6 separate regions of the Homo sapiens genome follow, and all the other regions are linked to region 2. Evidence: promoter capture Hi-C in 16 types of primary human blood cells and fetal thymus (Javierre and others, 2016). All regions are on one chromosome and are shown on one strand. The core of a region is centred on a gene start or on the middle of the fragment in contact, and the rest is flanking DNA. Distances in the headings are between cores, read along the strand shown.

Region 1 (3,401 bases), core at 731-3,230, 320 kb after region 2:
CTGTCAGGGTAAAATGGAATGATGATTGACTACTAAGAGCCAGGCCAGGACTAAGTGCTTTGCATGTATTATCTTCTTTACTCCTTAGAGCAGCAGTAGCAGGAGAAGAAACTGAAGATTCCCGGTGCAAAATCATTGCCCAAGGTCAGATGTTGCAAATGACAGGGCCAGAAGTCATCCCATGTTCCCTGAAGCCAGAGCCATGTTTTTATCCTAAAGAAGCTTCCTGACCCTCCTTTTCTGGAACAATTTCTGCATAGAATGTGTTGGAGGAGGATTCTTCTACCTACTGATACTATGAATTTTCCCAAACATTCCTCCCCAAACATTCATTTTTCCCTTTGTTCCTGCACTCCCCCTCTGCCCTCCTTTCTAGAATAAACCAGCAGCTCTCCTGGAAGCCGGGGTTTCTCTAACTGGGACATGTTTCAGCCTTGGCAGGGCGAACAATTAGGGCACCTGCAGATAGCAGGGAGCCTGTCCGTAGCTAAAAGAGGGAGAAAAGAGGTCCATCAGCCCTGTGGCGCCTGCCTGGGCAGCCACTTCACACCTTCCATCTGTGTATGGCCCTCTCCTCTCCAGCCCTGGCGCGTGGAGGTGAAGGGATTCAGTATCTGCTTCTGGGATTCATTCCTGTTAGGAAATGTTAGTCTGTAAGTTTTCATATATGTTCTTAGATTGTTGTGTCGTACACATTTAATATTGCAACCTATAGAAATAGAAGAATGTCCTTTTCCTTAAGAGTGGGTGCATAGGCAAGTTTACTTCAACAGAAGTTAGAAGAGTGTTTGGTCTTTAGACAGCAGGCAGGCTGGGGTGAGGGGAGGTGAGAATGAATTAGTGTCCCCTGCATCTGTGTCAGTCTACTATTACATGAGGGGAGGAAACAAGCAAAGTTTAAATGTCTCATGTGAGCTGAAGAGAAAAAACATGAAATATACCTTTGGGTGACCATACACCAGTGAGAACCCACCCATATGAGCATCCTATCAAGTCTCAGCTGAGGAGAAGAGCTGAAAAAGTGTTCGGCCGGCGCAGTGGCTGTCGCCTGTAATCCCAGCTACTTGGGAGGCCAAGGCAGGAGAATTACTTAAATCTGGGAGGCGGAGGTTGCAGTGAGCCGAGATCGCGCCATTGCGCTCCAGCCTAGGTGACAGAGTAAGACTCCATCTGAAAATAAATAAATAAAAATAAATAAGTGTTGTTCATCATAACTAAATGGCCCCTTAGGGCCCAAGAAGAACCTTAGCTGCACAATACTGAAGGATCAAAGAAGATACTGCAAAAGCCAAAACACCTGTAAATACATTTGAATATTTTGAATTGAAAAGTAAATGATGCAGAATGCAGTAGGTAGCTTTTATGTCACTAAAACAAGGTTGGTTCTTGGGAGGAGAATAAAGAAGAATGTTGTTAAAAGTAAACAAATCTAATTTTGCACATCTTAATTGGCTTTAATTTGATTCCAGAATCAGACAACAGTCTAGACCAAAAATGTTCAGAATGCTTCACCCTACGGCATATGCAGATTATATTTATAGCCAAAGAAAAGGAGGTGACATGCAGAAAATGGAAGTGAGGTACAGAGACAGCTCCGTTGGTTAAAATGCAGCATATGCCTTAATTGAATCTGGTTTCAACAGTTGGCCATCTTTGATTGACCGAAACTCAGCTACTTGTTGCAAGAGGAGGTTACGGTCTGTTTCCACGTCAAGTTAGGTTACAGTTCACTATGTACAGAAGAAACTTTAGGCCAAACTTAAAACATGTATAGAGGCAGCTTTAGGCCAAACTTAATTCAATTTAATATTGTTGTAGGCTGACTGTAATTGTAGTTGTAGTTCATCTCCATCATTGCTAGGAAATCTCTAGAAGGAGCTGGGAGAATAACCTGGTGCACTAACTTTTTATTGCTGCCCTACAACTAACCCTAAAATTTAGTGGAATAAAATAGCAAGTCTTGTCTTTTTCTTTCTTTTTTTTTTTTGTTTTTCTTTTTTTTCTTTTCTTTTTTTTTTGAAACAGGATCTCACTCTGTTGCTCAGGCCTGGAGTGCAGTGGTGTGATCGTAGCTCACTGCAGCCTCAACCTCCTGGGCTCAAGTGATCCTCCCACCTCAGCCTCCCAACTAGCTGGGACTACAGGCATATGCCACCACACTCTGCTGATGTTTTAAATTTCTTGTAGAGGTTGGGTCTCACTACGTTGTCTGGGCTGGTCTCAAACTCCTGGGCTCAAGCAGTCCTCCTGCCTCAGCCTCCTAAGGTGCTGGGATTACAGTGGTGTGAGCCACTGCACCCAGCCTAAAACAGCAGGTATTTTATTTGCTCAAATTCTGTGAGTCAGAAATGTGGCATGGGTTTAGCCAAGAGGTTTTCAAGCAGGTCTCACCTGGGGTCACTCATGGTGTAGTCATCTGGTGACTGTAATGTAGCTGGTGAGTCTAAAATGGCTCACTGACATGGCTCACAGTGGGATTGGCCGCCTGCTGAGCAGCATGTCTCCTATAGGCTCTCCCGGGCTTCTTCACAAGTTGACTAGGTTCTAAAAAGAGCAAGGGAAAAGGGGAAACCCAAGGTGCAAGTGCTTTTCAAGCCTCTACTTGTGTCACATTTGCTAATGTCCCATTGGTCACTTCAAGTCTTAGAGCCAAGCCCAGAGTCATTGTTGAGAAGTGGCCACATCAGGGCATGGATACAGACAGACATGATTTATTGGAGGGATCGTTATAGTAACAATCTACCATAGGAGAGTATTTGAAAATCAGAGTATATCAGTTCAACTTCAGGTGTTGGGTTCTGAAATTTTCTCCCCAGGATTTTGACACATGGAATGAAACTCACGTAGGATTCCAGAACACCTCCAACTCCGAGGAATGACACCTCTACCAGCAGTGAGCTGGGTTACCCAAAACTGTCTGATCCCTTTTTCATTAAAGAGCAATAAAATCTTAAGTGTAAATTTTTTTCAGGTGTTTATAGATCATCTCCTGTTCTCTTACTTACAGAGGCTGATATTTTTTTGTTTCTGGTGTCCAGATAACTTTCTTTGGTCTTTAAATGGGCATGCCAGAGAATCAGTCCTTCCTAAATGGGCTGAGATGCTCAAAGACTGATGGAGGTTAACTAGGGTTGATGTCCCTATTCTACATTTAATAAAAATAGAGTGGAATTATGCAAGTATGCAGATAAGCTAATCATCTGACCTAATCAGCAATGCAGATTTTGAAAAGCCTTTCTAATTACTTCCTCAGCTTGGCTGAAGGTATGGGTAAAAAGATTTTCCCAGCATGATGGTAGCAGATGTATTTCATAATATTTATTGAAAATATTGGAAAGAAATCCTCAATTATGCTCCTGAAAAGTACATCAAAAAGATATCATATTTAACATATTTTAAAC
Region 2 (3,483 bases), core at 45-2,544:
GGCAGGGGAATACTGTCGTGCCCGGAGCGCCGCGCTCACCTAGGATGGTGAGGAGGCGGGCCCACAGCCTCCCGCCTCCGTCCGCCGCGCGCCCCGCCCGCCCGGCCGCTTCCGCCCCGTCTGCTCCCCGCCCCCGCCGACCCTCCGGCTCGGCGCTGACCCCGCGCCCTCCGAGCCGCCGCGGGAACTGCAGGGCCGCCCGGCCGCCTCCTCCCTCTCCCGCCCCACAATCCCGCGGATCCGCTCCCCGGGGCGCGGAGGCGGGGAGGGAGGGGCTGCCGGGGAGAGCGTCAAGGACTCGGCTCCGGGCCGTCCGCTTCTTGGGGCTCCGCTCTGGGCGTGGGGCAGTGGAGCTGGACTCCCTTCCCCGCCGCCCCCGGGCCCCGCGGGGGTCTGCAGATCCCGCTTCCTCTGCCCCAGTCCTCCAAGTTTGCGTGCTTTCCCACAGAACTGGCGCAGGCAGGGGCCCCTTCGCTGGGGTGGCGAGGCCAGGCGCGCATCTCCGCCTCGCCCCCATTCATCCCGCCAAGGTGAAGCGCAGGGAAAAGGGGCGCCCCCGCTTCGCCCGCAACGTGCGTCGCTCCGGAACCCAAACAATGACTCCCCTGCCTGCCGCGCCCGGCCCTCCGCCCGCCCCACCGGCGCGCGGGGGGCACCGCCCGCGGGGCTGCCCCTGCCTGACCCCATTGTTGCCCGGCGCGGGCGATGCCCGGCGCCCAGGGGCGGTCCCCGCGAGCTGCCCCACAGTCCCGGCCGGCTCCGCCCACACCTTTCCAAGTTCGCTGGCGGGCGAGCCGCGGGGACGACCCGGGCGACAGCCCCCTCCCTCCACTGCGCGCCCCCACCCGGGCGGGTGCGGCGAGGGGTGGGGGCCCAAGCGGGCTGCACGCTTTTTGGGTCCCCGAATTCTCCTAAGCCTGTCTGGCGCGCTCTGACACAAAAGAGGAGACTTTCTCGCGGCTCGGCGCGAGTCCTTGCCCAGCGAGTTGCTCTCCAGGGGTCCCTCCCGCCGCAAGCCCCCGCGGGCCCCCTCGGCCGACGACTCCCCGAGCTCCCAGGGCCATGTGTGGGTTATTTGGGGTGCCGCAGCAAAGTGGTGCAGGTGAAAGGGAAGCGCTGCCGAGGCCCGGGGCCGGAGGGCGGGGGCAGGGGTGGGGCGGGGTGGGGCGGGGTGGAGGCGCCGCGGACCCAGCCCGGCGGTCCGGGCGGGGAGGCGAGGGCCGGGCAGTGGGTGTTGCCTTCTACCTCTGCGAGCGGGGAGGGGTTAGTTTCCCACAGGGGATTTCAACCATCACACTCAGAGCCCGCCTCCTAATCCTCGGGCGGAGCGGCTCGGGGGCCCCATTTTATGGCAATAAAGCGACTTAGCGCCTGCTGAGCGAGCCCCTCCCCGCCGCCGCCCCCGCCCTCGGCCCCACCCCGGGGCTCGCCGGCAGCGGCGGGGCTTTGTTTCTGGGGAGGAGGACCCGGAGCTCTTTTGTTTGGGGGTTTCTTGTTTTCGGCCCCCCCCCTCACAGCACCCCACCCCACCCCACCCCAAGCGCCTCTCCGGTTTCCTGAGCTGCGGGCTGCGAGGGAGGAGAAGCGGCGTCCTGCAACCCCCTCGGCTGGGCCCCGGGGTAATTCGATGCGGGCCTGGCGAGGCTCCCCACACTAGACCGGGGCTCGCAACTCGGCAGCCTCCACCCACCGGCCCACCCTACATTTAGCGCATCATGTGATCCGGGTAAGTCATTTGCAAGTACAACAGTTCCCCGGGTTGCCCCCCATTCATTTCCTGAGAACTGCAGAGAGCCGCTGAGAGGCTCTGCGTGTGCGTGTGCGCGGGTGACGCCGTGTGTGTGCGAGTGTGTGTGTGTGTGTGCGCGCGCGCGTGTGAGAGAGAGAAAGGGAGAGAGAGAGGGGGACTCTGTGTGAGGGAAAGAAAACAATTTCTCCTGCTCTGCAGCTTCTGTTCAGGTCTGTGCCGATTCCGTTTCTTATCAAAATAAACAACCCCCTCCTCTTTTTTTTTTTTTTTTGCCATCCCAAATCAGACCGTATTCTCTTAACGTGTTTTATTTTCCTTCTGTCATCTGCTCAAGTTAAATCATTTTGGTTGGTCTGTGTTCTTAAAGGGGGAAAGTGCTGGGAAGCGGGAGGGGGCCGGGGAAGGGCGATGCTGTTGCAAAGCAAGTAGCGTCGGTCGGATTCGTGGAGAAGAAAGAAGGAGGTTTCTTCCCCACCTCCCCTAATTTTTTTTTTCCAGAAGAAGTTATCAAGTAACGTGAATTAAGCAAGTGTTTTTCTACCCCTAGTGGAATTGTTGGTTGCAGTGTTTGCCTGACAGTTGCCAAGGATGTGAAATAAAACCCCAGGGCTGAACTTGGGGGGGAGGGGGGGCTCGTGGAAGTAGTTGGCCCCCCGGCCTCGAGCGGGGTGGATGAATAGCTCCGCACCGGGACCGTGTGGGCTGTGTGTGCGCGCTGGAGAGAGTGGAGGGGAAGGGGTTAAGGCGGAGATGACACTGCTGGCATGAATAGTGCTCCTGGTGCTACATTCATTATTGTCTCTGGTCGTAATGATGTGTAACTGTCACTTGCTACAGTGCCTGGTCCATGCAAGTAGCCAGGGGCTGGCCGGTGGCTGTTATTTTCAATTACGGGGGACCTGGCCGGAGTTGACAAGGGGCAACTTTGTACGTCCACCCGGGCCGGGAACCCGCAGAGCCGGCCTGGGAGCCACTTCTTGCCTCAGAAGCTCACTCTGAGGGTTCAGACTTGACCTCCGCGACATTAGTTGGTGTTCACGTTAGATGCTCCCCTACGGGGAGAATCAGTCCTGCTTTTGTTGGGTAGCGAGCTGTCTGCAAGAACTTTGAAAACTTTTATCTTTGGGGAAAAGGGTGGGGTGCACTCAACAGTTTTGTTTCGCAGTGCATTTGAGGCAAATGCTTGGAAAAAGTACCAATTCCTTTGTTATATGCCCTGCAGCTTCCCAACCCCCTTCACCCTGCGCTTCGAGTTTTGCATACTTTAATAGTAATAGTCTTATTTCAGCTGATAAAAGCTGACTGTGTTGAGTTAAAGAGTATTAATACAACGGAATGTGTAATCTGGATAAACAGTTTGCGTAGTTAGTATTGTCAGCACTCTAATTTAACTGTATAGATGGCTAAAGTGTCGTTCTGTATGGATTGTTTTAGATAATTCCACTGGCTAATGGAATTCTCGGCGAGCACTCTGATATTTTATTTTACACCAGCGTTAAGATTCTCTGTTTCCCTGTAACATCGGAGAGACGAGCAACTCTATTTACATTTAGTGCGTGTGCATCTAGTGACTTCGGTAGACATCTGCCAATCAAATACACGTCATTCTGCAAAACCACCTAGACGCCTCCATGCCCTTTTCTTACTGGACGATAGAGTTGTTTAGATAAGTAAATGCTTTGAAATAAATTTGGTGGCTTTTAGCAAGAAGCAGCTTGTGATGGGAATAGGAG
Region 3 (3,389 bases), core at 890-3,389, 410 kb after region 2:
ATTCCATGGTGTATATGTGCCACATTTTCTTTTTCCAGTCTATCATTGGTGGGCATTTGGGTTGGTTCCAAGTCTCTGCTATTGTAAATAGAGCTGCAGTAAACATAACGTGTGCATGTGTCTTTATAGTAGAATGATTTATAATCCTTTGGGTATATACCCAGAAATGGTATTGCTGGGTCAAATGGTAGTTCTGGTTCTAGATCCTTGAGTAATCACCACACTGTCTTCCCCGATGGTTGAACTAATTTGCACTCCCACCAACAGTGTAGTGTTCCTATTTCTCCGCATCCTCTCCAGCATCTGTTTCCTGACTTTTTAATGATCGCCATTCCAACTGGCATGAGATGGTATCTAATTGTGGTTTTGATTTGCATTTCTCTAATGACCAGTGATGATGAGCTTTTTTTCATGTTTGTCGGTCACATAAATAGACATGTATAAGACTCTTCACTCTTGAGTAGCTTAAAGTTTAACTGTAGTCAAATAAGGATAACTTATTTTTAAAATTTAGCATGATTCTAGAGAGTCCCCAAATCAGATGTGTTCAAGAGCCACATGGATAAGATAAAGTGCTGTTCTCATAAAGCAATAGGGCATGGGTTGGGCCCATGCCAGAATGAGGAGGGCAGGGCTTACCCTTAAGGCATTCCGATTAAAATAATTAATCCTATTCTGACCTAGAAAGTTTTTTTTTTTAAGGTTTATGTAATCCACCAAGCTATCACTTCTGGCATAAAACATAATTTAAACCCCGGTATTTTCTGAAGAAATTCTGTGGGAAAATCCCTCTAAATATTTAAGTATGTTATGTGTCTTCCATTCAGTGGGTATGTCTAGTATAATCCAGAAATCCATACCTGTTTCAGAACCCTCGTTTCATCCTACATTATTAATTGATCTCATGGGATAAAGTCTTCGCAATGCATAGGACATTCCCCACAGAGTAGCTATTTTGAATAGATACTCTATATCTGAAATAGGCATTTTTTTGTTAGCCAACAATCCTCTTTCAACTTGTAGTCTAATTTCATCATAAAAGTTTGATAATATAGCCAACCAGAACAGACTGTTAATGATTCGTTTTTTTCTATTTTGATTCTCTTTAAACATTTTGCCTAATACAGCTTATGATCTTGCTTGCTGAAATATGTTGAAACAAAAAGAACAGAAAGCTTGTCATACTTTTAAGTTTTTTAACGGTCTAGAAAGTGATGTGGAAAAATACTTAGTGGCTGCTGTTATATTTAAGTAAAATCATGAAATACTGTGAATCCATCCCCAGGGCACCCCTTGGGCGCCCAAAAGGCTCATTTGTAAACCATTATCTTTTAATTAGTTTAGTAGGAAACTTTGTTTATTAAAGTAAAACAATAATTAAATATGCATTTTAGACGCATTCTGTTCATATGGAAAACTTGCCAAACGCTAGTTTGAATAGATGTTAAGATTGAGCTTTTTGACGCATTTTAGCAAACGTATTTCTCTTGATTTATACATTTTGTGAAAACGTTTTTATTGAATCCAAATTAGAACATGATATAATGTCTCAGTCACAGCTTCTGAAAAGGGTGGCAACTACTAATCTTACAATTTCAATCTGTTCAAAAGTAGTTTTCTGTGAAATGCTACAGACAGGAGTGAGAGAGGAACTTGATGCCTGTGAATCTGCTCCACCTCCGAATGTAGCTGCTGGGGATTTGGTAGTAAATGTATCTAAACACTGCTTTTTCCCTAATTAATATCATAGGAGAGACATTGACATGGTTTGACAGGCACTAGAGTCTGTTGTAGTATGGAAGATAAATATGAAGATTCCTGCCTCTGAGAGCCATCTGCTGGTTAAGGGAAAGCCTACAAAGAAATGCAGATATCTGGCTTGTTCATGTGAATAGAATCTGTCTTACTGAGATTTATGTAAATCCTGATTAACTGAAAGTCTCATCCACTCTTGCTCTGCTTGTGGTCTTGATGATTCATTCCCAGGGTGGTGTTTGATTCACTAACAAAGAAGTCATTCTACCTACAGGTATTCTGTGGCAGAAGTTAATTCAGAATTCTGTAGGTGATGTTCAATGTCTTATTTTAAATAATATGAAACCTTAGAAACAGTACAAAATATACTTTGTAAACTGAATGCTCCCACTTCCCTTAAGGTAATTCTATCGTGCAACCAACTCAATTCTTTTTGGTACAATTGTAAATAAAGTGGAATGTCAGGGAAGGGACTAATTTTGTGGCATTAATGGTCAAGGAAGACATTAGCATATACCACTGCCAAACTCAGCCTTTAAAAAACATTTCCCTTGGAAATACATAGTTTATAACAACTTTAAGAAAATATGTACTGGGTAGGCATAGTGTCTCATACCTATAATCCCAACACTGGGACGCCGAAGTGGGAGGATCACTTGAGGCCAGGAGTTCAAGACAGGCTAGGACAACACAGCAAGACCCTTTCTCTACCAAAAAAAAAAAAAATTAACTAGGCATGGTGGCATGCACCTGTAGTCCTAGTTCCCAGGAGGCTGAGGCGGAAGGATTGTTTGAGTCCAGGAGTTTGAGGCTCCGGTGAGCTATGATTCTACCACTGCACTGCAGCTTGGGCAACAGAATGAGTTCTTGTCTCTTTTTAAAAACAAGATGAAAGGAGAGAAAAGAAAATACTTTCTTTGGTAGATTAATAGTAAGTGTACTGAATGCCCATCTGACAGTACTTACAGAACGGTTTACCTTTTTAAAATTCTCCAGAGAAAAGTATATGTCTTATCGTTGCAGGCTATATTCAATAACACTTATGTGTGCTGTTGTTTTATATAATTGGGTTAAAGGGGAAATTTAAATGCTATAGATATTTTGTTGCTTTTTCCCCTTCTATCATATGTTGGTTTGTAATACCTGTATCTTCATCTGAATAAGCATAACATTGTAATTAAAATTGAGTTCTGGAATCAACCACTCAGGTCTGAGTTTTAGTGTAGCCGCAGACTTTGTCTTGGCCTTGGCCTTAACCTCTCTGTGCCTCAGTTTCCTCATCTGTAAAAGAGGGATACAGTGTACAGGGATAGTAGTGTCAATCTCAGAGGGTTGCTCTGAAGCTTAAGGCATTTAGGTCGGTGCCTGACACCCACTAAGCATTCTGTAAATATCATTGTTATCCTCAGCTGTGGCCCTTGGAATTCTGTTGTGATTGCGTGTGTGAATTTACTAAAGCTCCTTCAATTCCAGTGTTTTCTGCTCTGGTTTTTAAATCTGGGATGTGTATGTCTTCTTTCCAGGCTTGAAAGATTGTCCTGGCCTTTTTAATTTTTTTTTAACTCCTGTAAAAACTCCAGTTTCAGTGAAGGACATCTCATCATGCTAAGGTCACACATGACGAGTGGTCTTTT
Region 4 (3,840 bases), core at 641-3,140, 390 kb after region 2:
AGAACTTAAAATTAAATTGAAAAATGCTTTTCTGTGAAGACTTCCCTGCAGTCCCCCCACCCATCAGCCTCTTCTTCCTCTCTGATCCAATGCCACCATATGGAGCATAGCATCACTTTTATCATGATTTACTGTATTTGTTGGCCCGTGTGTAATGTTCTTTCCACCTTCTCCTCAAGCCTGAGGCCCTCCAGTATGAAGGCTGTCCTTGCCTGGCTCCAAGCACAGCACATGTGGCAGCAGGTTCAAGGCATATTGATCAGTGAAATGAAGACATCTCTTCCACTATCCTCATCTATTGGTAGGAAAACTGAAGCCCGGAGTTTGAATGATTTTGTCCAAATTTGCACAGGAGCTAGGATTAGAACTTAGAACTTCTGCCGCCTGACTTTGGTGGTTCCCTTTCCACATTTTGATGGCTGTTTCCCATTCCTTAGTCAATATTTTCAGAAAAGTAGAAATACTCAAATTCAGAGGATAGCAAGACATATTTTCACATTACAGACATCTTTAAACATTGGTTACATCATTTCTGCCCTTTCTCTGTTTATCGTTGTTATGCCTGACAAAATGTTTGAAGAATAATGGTGACTACTGACCTGAATTTCAGAAGCTAAGATTTTAGACCTGTTCTGTCACTCTCTAATTATGTGATCTGGGGCAAGATTGAGTCCCTTATGCCTGATCTTGCCTGTTTCTTTCCACAGGGATTATGTGAAAATAAATGGAGATGAGTATGTAGGAAAGAGCTTTATGTCACAGAAGGCAGGATGCTACAAAATACCTCTGCAGTATTGTCACTGTTCACTTTTCTTTTAAATATAACCACTTTTATTCATGCTTTAGAAAGAAAAAACCAACTTTCATAAGTTTCCTTTCTCTTCTTCTTTCGACAATCCATATAGTATTATAAAAGATTGGGATTCTAATTCTTACCTCCACCTGATTTTTACGTTTTTGGCCTTCCCTCTGATCCACTTGATCCTGAATTTAATTATCAGGCTTACATTAACACCCTGTCTCTTTGCTTGCTCTGCCTAGCAGTTCTTCATGGCTGAGTGAAAAGAGCTTGATTAGTAAAAGCTTACCCTTTTATATTTCCTTGCAATTAGTCCAATAAAAAAGCATCACCCCCTGGATGGGCTTTGTGTGGCTATTTTTTTAAAAATCTTTTTCCTTTGGCTGTGCTAATTTGTTGGCTTTTTGTCTCTTGTGTATGTTAATGAATTTGAAGATCAGTCTTTTAGTTTTAATTGTCACACCTTTGAAGACACAAACACCTTCAAACATTAAAACTCTGGAAATAGGATTTAGAATGAGATTTAAATGCAGGCTCTGTTGTTTAATGGGATTAATGCATACGACATTTTCATATGAACAAAGAATAAATATCTTTTTTTCTTTTTAATCTCTTAGCTGAATCAGCAGGTACTGAATTTTAAGTGGCATTGTGCAAAGTGTCAATCCATGTTGGTATAAAGAGGTAAACCATTTATCTTTCTGAGGGCTGAGAAGCTGGGCCTCCCCTAGGATTGTAGCAAGCTGAGGGCCCGTGGTCTTAGAACACACACTGAAAAGGGCCTTCTAATGATAAAAAACTGAACATAGGTACTCTATAGGAAATGACCATCAAAGTAAATCGAGTGTTAATTGGCCACAGAGGGAGATGTGGCCTCTGAAGTACTGAATGTATAGGCTTTTATTCTCTAGTAACTTTTCCAAGGCCTTTAAAACTGACATGGGGTGAATAAATATAAAGAACAGGAGTCCAAACAACTCAATGGAAAGAGCACAGCTTTGGAATCAAAGGATGCAGATTCAAATTCTACCTGCTGTTGGCTTTTGGCGTTAAGCAAATCATCAAACTCTTCACTATCATTTCCTCTGTGGTAATATACAACAAAAATATATCTCCCAGAGCTCCACATATTAAAATTTAAATGTATTTGGCATAACTTGGCCTGCCATTAAAAAAATACCATAGATTGTGTGGCTAAAACCACAGGACTATTTCTCACAGTTCTGGAGGCTGGGAAGTCCAACAGCAAGCCATCTGGTGATTCAGTTCCCGGGGAAGGCTTTCTTGCTGGCTAGCAGAGTGCACCTTTTCTCTATGTCCTCAAAAAGTGGAGAGAGAAGAGAACTTTGATCTTTCTTCCTCTTCTTATAAAAGTACACTAATCCCATCCTAAGGGCCCCACCACCCTCATGACCTGATCTAAATAATCCCCAAAGGCCCCATCTCCAGATACCATTGCATTGAGGATTATGGCTTCAACGTGTGAATTTTGGGGGACACAGACATTCAGTCCATAACTGTTAATTCAGATTAAAGGTCTGGACAGACAAGGATCATATATAATATTATTTTTATTAAAATACCAACTTCTGATATCAGCTCCCTTAAAACTTAAACATCACTTCAGTCCGACTTTGTCTTCTGTGTGACAAAGGAATCTGATATGGGATTACAAATGGGCCCTGGAATCAGTAATTTGCTCCCAGGTGTGCCTGGTTATATTGGTGGTAAATAATTCATCCTCTGGTGATAGAGGCGAGTCTCCAAAGTGATTCTCCACAAATTCATCGTTTTCAACACTTCCCTCCAGTGGAAACAATGAAGTCAGTTTTCACCAGAAATGGACATTGTACTTTGTTAGAACCACCTTTCAATGATATTTTACATTCTTAAGCTTTTCACAGTTTTCACACAGTTCATAGATACCATTTTATTTATTTCTCAGACCCATTCTGTGACATGTCTTGAAAAACAGTTTTATTTTAATCTTTAAAATGAAAAGAGAAAGAATAGAGTAGGGATCAATAAATCAGACTGCCTATTTTCATATTTCAGTTACTATATATTAACTCTGTAACTTCGAGCAAGTTATTTTATATCTCTGAGTCTCTGGTTCCTAATCTGTAAAATGGGGCTTGCTAATAATACCTGTTTCATGGTTATCATGAGGATTAAATGCACTATATTACATATAAAGCTCAAAGGACAGTATTTACCAAACGCAATAAATAAGTGTTGACTATTATTACAAGGGGATGCAAGACTCATTTATGTACAGCCATGACTAATACATAGCTAACATTAATTATGTAATCTACTAGCTAAAATGTACTTTGACCCTTTAATAGATAATACAATTTGAGAGCTAGGTTAACTCAATTCCCCAATATGATATAACTAAGCTAACCTTGACATATCTACTGCGTCCTTCTCATTCAGTCCTTTTCCTTTACCTACCCTTTAAATGTTCATGTTCTTCAAAGTTTCATTTCCTTTTGCATATTCTCCCTTGATAACAGCCTTCTCCGTAGCTAAAACACTCACCTCTTTGCTGATGGCAGCCTGGGTTCTTCATTCCTCCTCTGGATCCCTGCCATGTCTTTTTGTCATGGCCCTCAATTGTGTGCATGTAAGGAAGTATGTGTGCCTCTCTTAGACTATAAGTCTCCAGCACCTACCATAAGGTCTGGCCCATAGTAGACACTCAGTAAATATTTGAAGGAAGAAAGAAAGAAAATGCCAGGAGTAGTGGCTCATACCTGTAATCCCAATACTTTAGGAGGCTGAGGCAGGTGGATCACTTGAGGTCAGGAGTTCGAGACCAGCCTGACCAACATGGTGAAATCCCATCTCTACTAAAAATACAAAAAAATTAGCCAGGTGTGGTGGTACACACCTGTAATCTCAGCTAATTGGGAGACTGAGGCAGGAGAATCACCTGAACCAGGGAGGCAGAGGTTGCAGTGAGCCAAGATTGTGCCATTGCACTCCAGCCTGGGCGACAGAGCAAGAGACTCCATCTCAAAAAAAAAAAAAAAAAA
Region 5 (3,399 bases), core at 244-2,743, 270 kb after region 2:
ATTTAGTTTTACTATCCCCATGACTTCTTGTCAGTTATTCACAGGAAAATTGCTAATAGCAAATCAGCTTCCTTTCTTGATCCAGCATGTTTCTGAGATCCTCCCTCAGTTGGCATGTGTTTAAGAAATACAAATGAATTTTAATATGAGTCTAATAAATATAATTATGGTGGTAAATCTGCTGGAATCATATAATGAATTTTAAACCCAACATAAATGCCTTTTTGGATTATCTGTCACTTGGGATTACTTGTACTGTGATCCTGTCTATGAGTAGATAATTGAATGTTGGCTATCTTAACTGTGACTGAAAGTTCTGATGCTAAGAAGAAAATGAATCATATAATGTGAGTTTGCTAATTTACTTAATAATTAATTTGGGATTTTATCACAGGAATTATTTAAAACCAAAAACACAGAGTAACTTTATCTCATGGGAACCAGAATTCTGTTTGGATCAAAGAAGTGATTAATGTGCCTGACTCTTTTCTTTTTCTTATTTATTCAGTAATAAATAATTGAATAACGTACAGTTGTTGTTTTCTTAGAGATTTTATAAGGAAAACCAATAAAGGAAAAAATAATTCTGCTAAGATATGTTGTTGAAATCTGTGAAAGTTTTTACTTAACCTTTTGACTCTTTTTTCTTCACGAAACATAGTCGTCTTAAAATTGCACAAAATAAGAGACAAATGTTTTATAGAATTGATTACAGTGATTTCAGTCTTTCCTGATCTGCTGTGGGCATACATTAAAGATTCAGATGTGGGAGTTAGTATTGCATTAATAGTTGAGGCCATGGATTTTATTGCCAGAGATCACTAAAGATTGTATCTTGACATTGTCACTTAATGCCTTAGAACCACTGGCACATTTCTTAACCTCTCCACGTCTGTTTCCTATCTGTAAAATGTGATTCATGATAGTTTTTTATATTGAGATGTTGTGAGGAATAAACAATACACTGTAATGTATGTGCAGCAGGTTTATAATTTTTAGACATGTCTTTTCCCCTTTACATGTTGTAAAACTAATTCAAGTTTGGGGCCTAGATTTAGCTAACAGTAGCATCACATGGGCTGATGTCTGGAATCCTTACTGGAAAGACAGATGCTTAGTGAATTTAGAGATCACAACTGCATTTATGTGTTAAGGTTTTTAACTTAACCTCAATACCCTTTGATTTTTCAAAAAAAAAAAAAAAACCCAACTATATCTGCACTCTTCTGTTTGTACACTTAAGCAAATCTATGAAAACTATTCAATTAATACTTATAATATGAAGGGCTAGGAACACGTAGACACACACATTTGTATATATAGGTAATAAACACTTCAAGTTAATTTTTCTACATATTCTGTCACACACACTCCTTGCATGACTTTTAAGTGCACTACATGCTAAGATGTCACAAGAATACACACATGCCCATCAGCATTCATACCAGTACCTAAGCCGTATTCACATACCCACGGAGGTGCATGTATATATGTTTGGACTCTGTAGATATATTTACATGATTAACACATATGGAAGAGTTAGAGAAGGAAAAATGAGGAAAACGGAATAATTCCACAAATTAAAAAAAAGTAATATATAAGATGTTAGGGGAAAAAGTAGGAAAAAGATGATAGCTTAATCCAGGGTTTCTTTAAACTTCGACACTCTTGGTCTTTTGTCTTTGTCATGGGAACTGTCTTGTCACTGCTTCAATCAAAAATGTCTTCAGATGTTGCTCAGTGTCCCCTGGGGGACACATTACCTGCCATTAATAACTACTCCTTTAGTGTAAATAAGAATGCCAAATAAGAATGCCAATGCAGAAGTTCTAGAAGAATGGAATTAACATGAAGGAGCAGAGCAAGATAAGCCAAAGGGAGGAGAAAGGCAGTTGTAGAGTTCACTGCGCAGGAAGCAGCAGCAGAGTTTGTGGGTTGCTGGTACAGGTAATCCCCACACTGAAAGGATCAGAGTTAGCAGGGGTTTTTTATTGTGGAATGGAAAATTAACAAGAATGGGGTACATGCATTTATCATTGTATCTAGTTACAGGATTTATAACCTTCATGCCATGTATTACACCCCGATTGACAGAAAAAAATGCAGAATCCTAACTAACTTTGAAAAACTTGATAGACATGAAGACTAAGTTTTGGAACCAGAAAGAGTGTTATTTTTTAACTTCCTATTACTGTGACATATTGAGAGATGCTAATTATAAATTTTCTAGTTATAAAAAATGTATTTCAAATTAGCAAAAATACAAAATATGACTCATACATTTGATTTTTAGCCCCTTGGAAGTGTGTCTTTCATCTCTTCTTGTAAAAATCATCTTGTAATACATGGAAACTAGTCACTTAAAGTTCTGTAGTGGGAGGAATTAAATATCAATTGATAAATTTAAATTCTTTAACAAAAGAATGAGGCACTGGAAACTTTCAACTTTCATTTTTATATGTTATAATAAGTTAATATATTTACCGTTTAAGTTTTAGTCACGGGGTAATTAATTCATAGATTTTTTTTCACTCTGTCGCCCAGGCTGGAATGCAGTGATGCAATCATAGCTCAGTGCAGCCTCGATTTTCTGGGCTCAAGTGATCCTTCTTCCTCAGTCTTTGGCATGGCTAAGACTACAGGTGTGCACCACCACACCCAGCTTATTTATTTTTATTTTTTATTTTTAGTAGAGACAAGGTCTCTCTGTGTTGCCCAGGCTGGTCTCAAACTCCTGAGCTCGAGCAACCCTTCGGTCTCGGCCTCCTAAAGTGCTGTGATTACAAGCGTGAGCCACTGCATGTGGCCCGTAGATATATTCAATCTGAGACCCAGTAAGGCCTTTGGGGAGCAACTGGAGCTTTACTAATGAGCTTTAATTAAGTGCTTACTTTGTACTGGGGACTGTGATAGGTGCTTGTCTACAAAAGAACAAGATAAAAATGATATCTTTGGTGGGCCCATGGCCGCCTCGTAAGAGAAAGAAGCACAAAGTTCAGAGTGCTTTGGAAGCACAGAAGAGTGGCATCTAATTTAGAACAGGTGGAATCTGGTACAGCTGGAGGAGATAACAGACACCTGAACTGTGCAAAAGCATGATCAACATCATCTTCAATCAGAAACTGAAGAGAGACAATGAGTGAACTGATCATATAAAACGCAACCCAGACCGGAACTCAGGCATGTATCCTTTTCACAAAACCACACTGCATTTCTTCTCACTTATTGTCCTATTTGCAAAAGTTCCGCTTTATTACATTGGTTTTATCAAAGAGCACTCATCATTGGTCAAAAATAAAACTTTTTTTAAAAAAAGTTATGAGTCTTTAGCTTGAAAGGAAAGGAAGAAAAGAAATTACATTTGTGGTGAGCTGATTTTTCTGCTTACAATGCTAATTG
Region 6 (3,629 bases), core at 789-3,288, 360 kb after region 2:
TAATAGTTACTACCTGTTTATCTCAACTGGACTGTAAGCTGCCTGAGGGCAGGGATCCTATTTTGCTTACAATGCAAGACCTCGCATATAGTAACTGTTGAGTGAAGTTTGTTGGATTGAATTAATAATGTTCAATTACTGATGCTTTAGGTGCTCTGGAGGTTTTCAGTAAATTCACTGAGATTGCTCAGATTTCTAAACATAAAACATTTTTATATTTTTCTATACTCATTGTTTAGCAAATGTTTATGCATCTATGCTACATGTTTATTATATGTGAACAATGTGTTATGATAAGCTCTGAGGATGCAATAGTTTATTAGACAGACATGGTCATTGCATCCATCCTGGAAGTTGTAGTTTAGTAGGAAAATCAGGCCAATAATACAACAGCTATTTATTGAGTGCCTACTTTAGTACCAGGTACTGGAGATATGACAGTAAGCAAAAAGAGAAAAGTTCCCTTGTCCCCTGGAATATGCTGTCTAGTTGGAGAGACAGGTTACATAAACTAAACATACTAACAAATATAATCTTGAGTTAACCCATGCTAAGTACCCCGTGCCATGAGAACTAAGAGCAAGTTCACCAAGACCTGGAGGTTAGGGAGGGCATCTTACAGTTGAGCATCAGCTAATCACCTTAGCAGGGAGAGAGGAGAACATCTAGTGTCACTGCCCCAGAGAGAGCAAGTGGGGATGGTGGGAGATAGGGCCAGGATTAATTAATACATTATAATTGCACACCAAATGCTCTTTTTAGAATTCCTCATTCTGTTGGTGTATATCAGAAATTAATGTTTCCTTCAAAATGTAATATTTTTAGCACAGTTTAACTTCTCTCTTTCAGTGTCTATGACATTAGAATAAGAGTTATAGTAAGCAGTTAAAAAAAATTTCACATATTGGCTGGGCATGGTGGTTCACGCCTGTAATCCCAGCACTTTGGGAGGCTGAGGCAGGAGGATCATTTGAGTTCAGGAGTTGGAGACCATCCTGGCCAACATGGTGAAACGCCATCTCTACTAAAAATACAAAAATTAGCCATTACAGGTGGCGCATGCCTGTAATCCCAGCTACTCAGGAGGCTGAGGCAGGAGAATTGCTTGAGCCAGGGAGGCAGAGGTTTCAGTGAGCCAAGATGGCACCACTGCACTCCAGCCTGGGTGACAGAGGAAGACTCCATCTCAAAAAAAAAAAAAAAGTTCACATATTAATTGTATATAATATTTAAGTTCAGCCCACTTTTCTAAAAGTAACATAAATGGCTTTTCATGAGAGAAATTTTAGTATAAAGGCAGATGGAGAACCTTTTAAAAATATATGGCATTTCTAATAGTCATTTAATCACTGGCCTGAGGAAAACCTGAGAATAAAATAGGCCCACTGAATTTAAACACTGGTCACACTCATATTTTTATTTGGTCATGGGTAGTGTGTTTATATTAAAATAACATCTAGAGTAACCTAAATCATCAGGAGAACTTGTATTCAGTACAACCGAGTGTAAGAAGAAAGCAATACCAAGAATTATTTTTAAATTATCTTTTATATAATTCTGCATAGGAAAATTCTGATATTTAGTAATTGTGGAGTTATTTTAGGTTAATCTTTTCTTCAGCAAATGTAGTAAACTGAGTTGTTAAAGTATGTATTATGTTTAATGCTTTGCACAATGTATAGATAATCATTTAATCATTAACCTAATTAAAATATAGGTTAATGATTATATAACCTAAATGGTTTTAGAAAAAGAACGTATTTGTACATAATAATTTCTTATAATCTTGGTATAAAATATCTAGTCTTGCTAGATGAGTAATGTCCTACAAGAAAGATTTCATTGGTCTGTGGAATAATCATTTATTCTCATTCTTCTCAGTATGAAACAGCCTCTCTAATTTATGGGGTGTGAGCACAAGTGGACTCACATGTTATTCTAAGGGTTTTTGGCCTGAGCAACTGAGTGAATAATTCCAACATTTTTGAAATTGAGAAGATACCAGAAGGAACATCTTTTTTTTTGTTTGTTTCTTTCAGAGAAAGGTTGATATTAAGAAACCTGGGTCTGGTTTTCAGAGAAGATCTAAGGCTGGAGGTAGACATTTGGGAGTCGTGATGATGTGGATGGGAAGGTCATGATGGTAGCTCAGTTGGAGCCTCTTTTAGCTACAGAGTGAGTTTAAATAGTGGAGAGGAAAGGTTATAGGACAGTGACAACTAGCCCATGCCAACATTTAGAGTTTGAAAGAATGAGAGGAGGAGGTTCAAGCAAAGGAGAAAGAAAGGAGGAAAGCCAGAAGAATGTCTTGGCTGCTGAGTAAAGAAGCTGTTCAAGAATGGAGTGATAATTTATGTCAGTTGCTGCTGAGAAGTTGAGGACTAAGAATTCACCATTAGATTTGAAAACATGGAGACTATTGATGGCTGTGATGAGGGCAGTTTCATCAGAGCGGTGTGGATACCAACTACATTGGATTCTAGAGAAAATGGAATGTGAGGAAGCATGGCTATAGCTAGAATTAATTTCTGCCCTCTAAAATTTACATGTGTTGTACATTATGTATTTAAATAGCAATGCTAATATAACAAGGAACATTCATAAACAATTAAAGAGATAAAGTATATTATTATGACTGTGCTTCTTATAAGTACCCACATGCTTCATATTTAGTCCAAGAAAACCATTACTTCCACTTTATATCTACTTATATTATAAAATGTTCAATTGGGCTTAAATACATGGAAAATTTCCTATTTAAGACCCTGGTGCTAATTCATCTTATTACATCCTCTGGGCTGGGTGGAGGGAATATATATAAGTATCAGATGATAATCTTATATCATCCATGATGTAAGACAGGTCAGACAGGTCAGACGTACCTGTGTTTAAATCCTGACTTTTCTCTTTACTACCTACGTGACCCCAGCAAGTTACCTAATCTTCTAAGCCTATTTTCTCAAAGATAAAATGTGGACAGTAATGACATGAGGATAAATTAAGATAATATGTCTTAATTATTTAGCATGATACCAAGCAAATAGTAAGGGCTCTGTAAATGGGTGCAAATTTGCATTGCCGTGATTACTGTCTTGTTCTTGAATGGGTCATAACTTAAATACTGTGCAGTTTAGTACACAGAAGATAGGTCTTCTAATAAAGAGCAGAAAAAAATGAGCTGCCTGAGAGTAAGCCATACCTTATAAGCCATAGTTTTTGGTTTGTATTATTCTGCCCATGTTTATTTCTTGGTTTGTTTTCTCGCCTTTAGTAAAGTTGTATAAGCACAGTAGGTAAGACTGCAGGCTCTGTAGAGCATATTTGTAATCTTAATCCCCTGGAATTACCTGGATAGTCCAGCTCTATCCTCTGACTTCCCATCCTTTCATGTCTAATCAGCACTGCTAGTGACAATAGCTAACATGTATTGACTGCTTCCTAAGTACTGAGCACCATTCTAAAGATTTTATAGCTGTTAACTGATTTAAACCTCGCAGCCCTAGGTAATAGGCCCCATTATTACCTCCATTTGCCCTGATGAGGAAACTGAGGCACAGAGAGGTTAAATAACTTGCCCAAAGATGACACCGTTGGTAAACGGTGAAGCTGGGATTCAGTCAGGCAGGCTG

Evidence for each region. The method cuts DNA at HindIII sites, captures the fragments that hold promoters and counts their contacts. A CHiCAGO score of 5 or more calls a contact.
Region 1: a fragment that was not itself captured here is called in contact with the fragment with the promoter of KLF12 in region 2 in 1 of 17 cell types (non-activated CD4 T cells); the score reaches 5.1 in non-activated CD4 T cells.
Region 3: a fragment that was not itself captured here is called in contact with the fragment with the promoter of KLF12 in region 2 in 1 of 17 cell types (activated CD4 T cells); the score reaches 5.2 in activated CD4 T cells.
Region 4: a contact is called between a fragment that was not itself captured here and the fragment with the promoter of KLF12 in region 2, in 1 of 17 cell types (non-activated CD4 T cells). The highest score is 7.5, in non-activated CD4 T cells.
Region 5: a contact is called between a fragment that was not itself captured here and the fragment with the promoter of KLF12 in region 2, in 1 of 17 cell types (non-activated CD4 T cells). The highest score is 7.5, in non-activated CD4 T cells.
Region 6: a fragment that was not itself captured here is called in contact with the fragment with the promoter of KLF12 in region 2 in 2 of 17 cell types (non-activated CD4 T cells and total CD4 T cells); the score reaches 8.0 in non-activated CD4 T cells.

The regions. Positions count from the first base shown.
Region 1 is chr13:73,815,936-73,819,336 of GRCh38, reverse strand. The region is part of intron 4 of KLF12 (KLF transcription factor 12); the gene reads left to right. Among named protein-coding and RNA genes, the nearest start is that of LINC00393, 160 kb to the right of the region's middle. The HindIII fragment of the contact is 3,512 bases long and covers 225-3,401 here.
Region 2 is chr13:74,132,215-74,135,697 of GRCh38, reverse strand. It overlaps KLF12 (KLF transcription factor 12), which reads left to right and starts at 1,294. Exons shown (of 8, transcript NM_001400136.1): 1 at 1,294-1,726. RefSeq lists a silencer at 1-1,547 and enhancers at 2,557-2,606, 2,637-2,816. The HindIII fragment of the contact is 3,671 bases long and covers 1-3,483 here.
Region 3 is chr13:73,720,811-73,724,199 of GRCh38, reverse strand. The region is part of intron 6 of KLF12 (KLF transcription factor 12); the gene reads left to right. Among named protein-coding and RNA genes, the nearest start is that of LINC00393, 61 kb to the right of the region's middle. The HindIII fragment of the contact is 1,923 bases long and covers 1,178-3,100 here.
Region 4 is chr13:73,746,813-73,750,652 of GRCh38, reverse strand. All of the region lies in intron 6 of KLF12 (KLF transcription factor 12), which reads left to right. Among named protein-coding and RNA genes, the nearest start is that of LINC00393, 87 kb to the right of the region's middle. The HindIII fragment of the contact is 1,610 bases long and covers 1,086-2,695 here.
Region 5 is chr13:73,859,862-73,863,260 of GRCh38, reverse strand. All of the region lies in intron 3 of KLF12 (KLF transcription factor 12), which reads left to right. Among named protein-coding and RNA genes, the nearest start is that of LINC00393, 200 kb to the right of the region's middle. The HindIII fragment of the contact is 6,362 bases long and covers 1-3,399 here.
Region 6 is chr13:73,768,100-73,771,728 of GRCh38, reverse strand. The region is part of intron 5 of KLF12 (KLF transcription factor 12); the gene reads left to right. Among named protein-coding and RNA genes, the nearest start is that of LINC00393, 110 kb to the right of the region's middle. RefSeq lists an enhancer at 3,609-3,629. The HindIII fragment of the contact is 4,662 bases long and covers 1-3,629 here.